2 separate regions of the Homo sapiens genome follow, and region 1 is linked to region 2. The links are contacts of gene promoters, found by promoter capture Hi-C in human tissues and cell types (Jung and others, 2019). All regions are on one chromosome and are shown on one strand. Each heading gives the region's core, a stretch centred on a gene start or on the middle of the fragment in contact. The rest is flanking DNA. Distances are from core to core; before and after follow the strand shown.

Evidence for each region. Contacts are between HindIII fragments. The study calls those that stand out against the background at their distance.
Region 1: a contact is called between a fragment that was not itself captured here and the fragment with the promoter of MSANTD4 in region 2, in 2 of the 25 tissues and cell types used here (H1 embryonic stem cells and hippocampus).

The regions. Positions count from the first base shown.
Region 1 is chr11:105,950,180-105,953,525 of GRCh38, reverse strand. All of the region lies in intron 14 of GRIA4 (glutamate ionotropic receptor AMPA type subunit 4), which reads right to left. Among named protein-coding and RNA genes, the nearest start is that of MSANTD4, 70 kb to the left of the region's middle. The HindIII fragment of the contact is 3,763 bases long and covers 1-3,250 here.
Region 2 is chr11:106,020,810-106,024,197 of GRCh38, reverse strand. It overlaps MSANTD4 (Myb/SANT DNA binding domain containing 4 with coiled-coils), which reads left to right and starts at 1,958. Exons shown (of 3, transcript NM_032424.3): 1 at 1,958-3,236. RefSeq lists enhancers at 1,417-1,486, 2,317-2,436 and a silencer at 1,877-1,986. The HindIII fragment of the contact is 5,723 bases long and covers 1-3,388 here.

The DNA of each region.
Region 1 (3,346 bases), core at 120-2,619, 70 kb after region 2:
TGTTATTAAATATAGCTGCATTGTCAGTATTTTCACAAAAGTTCTATGCGTATTCCATATAACAAGATGAAATAGGTAGAGAGAAGCAAATATCATGTAGGATTTACTTTTGTAGTTTAATTAATGACATCTTCCAGATAAAGGTGAATGGAGCAAGTAAGCAAAAAAGCTGAGAATTTACAACAACCCCAGAACTCTGTGTAAAGTCAATTAATGACCTACTGAGAAAAAATGACTATTTTATTAATCAAGAAAACACAAAAAGTAAATAAGAATCAATAGGCTGTCAAATGATGAAGAGTGAAGAACTAAATATGTCTAATTTTAAGGAAAGGCTTTTGCATTCGCAATTCTACCCTTTATCAACTATTTAGCCTCGAAGAGTAGCCAGTTTTCAGCATTATCAATGCTCCACTAAGTTTTCAATTTAACTTGTAGCTGTGTTATTACTTTTCTTCCCAAATTATTCATTCCAGTAGACAAGCACAAGGCTCTTTTTGCTTCATTGGATTTGTGCACTCATTTCCAAAGGCAGAATTTGGGCTAGATTGCTCTACATATATATGCAAAAAGTTTTTAGAAAAGATATTGAATTTTTACTCCAGTTTGCCTATGCGATGACAAGTAAGATTTGCATTAAATGGTACTATTGATCAGGAATTTAATATTAAAATAAGGAGAGAAAAATTTTTGTAAGTGGAAAGACAATTCAGACCCAGCATGATTTGCAATGAGCACTTGAAAACTACTTTGATAAGGAAGGATTTAGTGTCTTTGGTTTGGGTTTTAGATGACATATATGTAATTAAGTTAGTGTGGAAACCTTTGTATTTCATATTCCAAGTTGAGTCAAGGAGAGCTGAACAAGTTACACAGATACTTGTCTGGATTCCAGCAATTGTCTCTAAATTGCATGTTCATTGGAATTTGCATGATTAATTTCTAGTTGAGACATGGATCTGAGGAATGTTATTCCTTGAAGGAGCTTTGTGATTTTTGTTAGGATATCTCCCAGGAACTTAGCCAGAGCATTAGCTAGGGAGTTTGATCAATGAAAATTTTAATTACATTTTTAGTGTTGAGTATTTTTTAGGTAATATTTACAAATATTTCATGAAACTTAGCTTCATGATTTTGTCAATTTTAGGTCACAGAGTAGAATTTTTTTACCTACTTTGGGTCATGGTTCTCTTTTAGAATTCAATGAAAGTACAAATACTTTCTCAGGAAGAAATGCAAAAACTTACAAAACCCCAGACTTATACATAATTTCAGGGGTTCACAGACCTTGGAAGGGCAACTTGAACACAGATTAAAAATATATCTGTTCTAAATTCGAATAACATTTATTTTAAAAATAGTGATGACTTCTAAGTCTGTCTATTAAAGGTAAGCGAAATAAAAACATTTCTATGACACCTGGTGGCTCAGAATGTTAATAGAGCAGAGGTTTTAAGACTGATTTATTGAGAAGGGATTTCCAAAGTACTAGCCTCAATCTGTGATCATTGTACAGTTGCATCATATGCAGAACATTTTAATTTTTTATTATTTTTATTTTTTGAGACAGGGTCTCACTCTGTTGCCCAGGCTGGAGTGAAGTGGCATGATCATGGCTCACTGCAGCCCTGACCTCCCGAGGCTCAGGTGATCCTCCCACCTCAGCCTCCTGAGTAGCTAAGATTGACTGCAAGTGCACACCACCATACCCAGCTAATTTTTGTATATTTTGTAGAAATGTGGTTTTGCCATGTTGCCCATGCTGGTCTCGAACTCCTGGGCTGAAGCGATCCACCTGCCTGGGATTACAAGTGTGAGCCACCATACCCACTCCCATTTTTAAATACTGAATGTGAAACCAATAAAAATTTAAAAAAAAATGTGAAAAGATGCCTTCAGTTATATAATATTGAGAAAATATCAACTATTCATATTTCATACCACACATTTTATTTATTTGTGGTGGCCTTGGGGTGTTTGAGACTATACTCAGTAAAGTCCCTGCCTCAGGCCATTCCCTTGTTGTTATCACTGTGCTCAAATTATACATATGAAAGCTTTGTTTCAAATGAGACCATGCCTAGCTAGTGAAGTTCTTCAAGTTATCTCTGAATAGCATTCATTTTTCAAGTTGTGGTTATTATTATTCTAAAGTAAATTTGCTTTAAAGTAGGTAAAATATAATTTTAAAATATAAGAACTGGTCTCTGTTACATAAACAGCATGTGAGCTGTTCAACAGTACTGTGTCTTTCATGCAGATGCCCTGCCTGGACCAGGATTTGCTGTGTGGACTCCCCCACTGTCTCTTACTCTTGATTTCTTCATCTCCTTATGTGATTTCCAGAATTCCATTCCATGGTCCACAGATCATCTTTACTTTTCCCATTCTTTGCTGACTCCTAAAAACTTTCATCAATTGCTTTAAAGACTTAGAATCCCAGAATTTTTGAATCAAAATGTAGGTTAGAGGTTATGCCCATCCTTCTTATTAGGCCCTAGGATGCAGTCCCTGGGGCCTAATGAAAGTTAGGTGACTTGTCCATCAAAGTCCAGCTGGGGCACAGGTCTTCTGCCTTCTGGTCCAGTGTTCTTCCTACAGTACCAGGATACCTTTGGTTTCCTATCATGACTCTTCCCTGTATAGCTAAACTATATATTCATCCTTCTATGGCTCTCTGTGGGAAATTTTCTTTTTCCTGGGAAGTTTGTCAGGCTTGGTAGGGTCTATGCCTGATTAAGTTTTGGAAGCCATTGTAAGATGGCAATTTCAGTTCTCTCAGGCTAAATACTCCTTGAGCTGAGAAAAAACTTGAAAGGCAGGTGGTCTTGTCAACTGAACAGATACAGCCTAAATACCCAAGAAGGAAGGGTAGTAGATAATTTTCTTTGAAAAGCATTACCAATATCTATATGAAATGACTTGATTTAACTAGATGGTAAGATTTTCTTCCAAAGTTAAAATGTCTTTTTTTTCATACATACAAAGTTCTTATTGATTTAAGTTCTAATCTTTTGAGACATGTAATCTTGGGTCCCAAGAACAGTACCATATAGAAGCTTCAGTATAATGAATTAGGAGATTTTACACAGAAGAAATAGGACTGTAAAAATGAATACCAAAATAACAAGGCCCAACCACAAAAACTCAGTCTCATCTTTGAATTTTCATTTCCCTTCCTTTCCTCTAGCCAATTATCCATTAAGAACTGTTTTTATGACAAGTGACTCTCATATTTATATTTTCATTTCTATTAAACTGGCATCACTTTAGTTGAAGCCTTTATCACCCAAGACCAGATCCACTGGCTTTCTCAATCCATTCTCTGCTACCCAGAGTCAGAATA
Region 2 (3,388 bases), core at 709-3,208:
GGAAAGCTTAGAGTTCATGATACGAAAGCAAAAGTTTGTTAATACTGATTCACCATTCTTGTCCCCATTACTGAGGTAAATAAACAGAGTCAAGTGGTGGACAGGTTCTGAACAGAACTGATAGTGTCTGGTTATGATGGGGATAGCTAGTTATCTTACTTTCTCACTGCACTCATCAAAAAAACACCACCCACCATGAACAAAATCCAAAATTATAAAATACAACTTGTATTTTTCCAAAAATTACAAGTTTCTTTTGATCTACTTTGGCAAAAGTATAGACATGCTTCTTTGACAAACATGTCTATACTTACTGACAAAGTCATAAGTAACAATCTGTAAGATCAATCTGATCATTACATTTTAAAGAGCATATTTCATAATTACTTCCTATTTTATGGGAGAGTTCCTCCAAGAATATCCAGCAAGGATGCACCATTCCTCCAGAATATTCCACCATTTATTTACCAAATCTTTTTTGTCTGTTACATTCTAGGCACTGTGTTATTCACAACAGTAAACAAGAAAAGCCCCACCCACATAAAATATGTGGGAAGTGCTGTCAGAGGAAAGGCCGTGATGAGAGCTCGCTGAAGTAGGCTTGCAGATTTAGTAAACAAAAATTTTTATTTTTTTAAATTTAGCAAATAAACATATGGATACCAAATATTCCATTGGACAGATTAAAAATTATTTGCTTTTTATCTGAACTTCAAATTTAACTGAGCGTCCTGTTTTTATCTGGCAAACCTACAGGGAAGGGAATACTTGGAAGTGGAGGGAGGGTGAATGGAGATAATTTTGGAAGCCTTCCTTTAGAAAGGAATTTCTAAAAATGAATGCTAGGCATAGCGGAGAAGCAGGGAGGAAACACAGCAATGCAAACTGACTTCCCAGTAGCCACTGTAGAGTTCAGGAACTGAAAGAAGCAAAGGGAATGGGGTAAGGAAGAAGAAATGTGGGTATAATGTCGAGAGATGAAGGTTGAGGGAAAAGTAGGTGCCTTATTTTTCAGGTTCGATAAGGAGTTTGTACTGTATCACCAGTGGTGAGATTCCACTAAAAAACTTTAAGCAGCTCATTTTGGCTACAACGTGAAGAATGAACTACAGTCCGGCAGACAGGATGTTGGGAGACCAGCTAGGAGGCTACTGATGGAATTCAGGTGAGTCCACAGAGGCCTGGACAGAGGCAGCGGGAAGAAAGGTGCACTAATCACAAACACCTGAACGTGAGACGGCAGAAAATAAGCAACTGCAAACTTGAATATAGAGGAGGACTGGGAGAGAAGAAAGCAGAAGCACATATTTGGGGAAACAGTGAAGAATGGTAAAAAAAAAAAAAAAAAAAAAAAAAAATTCAAATGTCTTCTGGGAAGTATATAGTATGATAAGGACTAAGAAGTGACTCCTAGATTTAGCCATAAGGAAGTCACCAGCGACCTTTGGCACGGGCAGCCTTAGAGGAATGGCTGAGGCCAATTAGGTCGCAGCTGGTCGAGGAGAAGGTGATGCTGGCCTAAGAACCCGACTGGAGCAGCACAAGTTTCCTACTTCTTCTTTGCCCTTTTAACAGGTGAGGGTCAAGGACAAGAGACGAGTTTGGAGATGCAGCGGCCAGTGCCCCAATCAGTTGGAACAGCGCAGCAAGCGGATCTCTAGGGGCCAATCCCTTCCTAGAGTCCACTTGACTGACAGAGCTGCGCGCCACAGACGGGGCACAGACAGGGAGGTGAATCACGAGGGGGCGGAATTCCAGGGCACTAACCCGGAACCGGTTTGGGACTTGATTCCCATTGTGAGGCCAGGCCTAGGGCGGGCTCTCAGCCAGAATGGCTACACCATTCTAACCAATGGATGAGACTCATCAAATGAGCGGCAGCCATATGAGCCATTGGGGTGGCGGGAGATGGGCGGGCCCAGTTAGTGGGCGGGGGATCAATGAAGCATCTTTTTTCCTACCCCCCTTGGGGCGACCGTGGGGAGGTGCCGCCGGGGTCGCAGGTGAGCGGTTCTATGCTGGAGGAGGCGGCCAGGGAAGCGGCGGCTCCGTGACCAGTGGGTGCCCTCGCAGTGGGTAGGGTCCCGGAGGGGTCAGCGGCAATTGGCGCAACGCTTGCTGCCGGGTTTGGTCCAAGGGCTGCGACGTAGCGGGACTGCACGCTCGGGAGAAGTGCCACGCGCGTCTGTCGCCTGACCGGGGAGGCTGGGGAGGGCCCAGGCCACGGAAACAAGACTGCAGAAGTTTCTGGGCACTCAGTCGGGACTCTCATTTAATACCCAGAGAGAGGAGATCTTCCAGGTTGCCCCGACTCCCACCGGGACTCCTACCAGCAGCAACCTCATCATTGTGGCCGAGGCAGGTGCGCGCCCCTGCTCCCCTGGGTGGCCTTCCGGGAGCCCAGTCTAACTCGATTCTTCCCAGGGGCTCTTTTTGGACGGTCCCAAAGGAGGCAGCGGGAGGGAGGTGAAAGATACTTTGATAACCGTCGACCCATAAGTATACTTGTTATGCACCTACCACGAGTTTTAGAGAAGAACATACTTTTTGGCAGGGAAGTGAATCCCCTATAAGAATATAGGGGAGGGGAAAGCCACACTTTAAAGAGAATTTGGGTAGGGTTTGATATTGTAGATTTGTGATGCTTTTCTTCTTGAACTGCTTAACTAATTTACCCTCAAATTTTTTTGATCCGGAACTTGCCGTCTGGTTTTTCTCAGACTTCTTAATTCTGACTTATCATGAAGTATCTAGGAACTTCATTCTCAAGTTTTAGTGCTTGTAAAAAGTTGCCTGGTTATATTATGCCATTGGCAGTACATCATCTTCACAAGGATTACGTAAGTGAACTACATCTCATTCCTGTTTCCAACTAGTGAAGAACGATTGTGAAATGGGATTTTAGAAAATGGCTGTTCTCTGTGATTGGGCATAGAAGGTTTGTAAGTTTTAGAGACTGCAGCTGTTGAATCCTTTCTGCTAAGAGAGCGATGACAGGCAATAGAAAAGGGATAGTGTTTGACATCTAAAATGACATATTTTCACATTTTATGAGGTGTTATATCCCCAGCACCAAAAATAGTGCCTTTCACACAGTAGGAGCTCAGTAAGTATTTTTTGAGGAAATTATTGGGGAATGAATGGATGGTAGAAAACCCAAGCTTCTGTTACTTGGATACCGGCATATAAAGGAGAGGACAGGAAGACAAACATTTCTGGAAATGGCTTTTATCCAGGTAAGCATATCTACAGAACTTCAACAACTCAAGATGCATCAATGCTGGCACTTTCTTGCACTTAATCAGAAAATATCAAGGTTTTAGAAGAAGATTTTCACACAATTAAGCCAAGACTGGGTATCTAAGGTGCATCCCAATATCAATTTCAG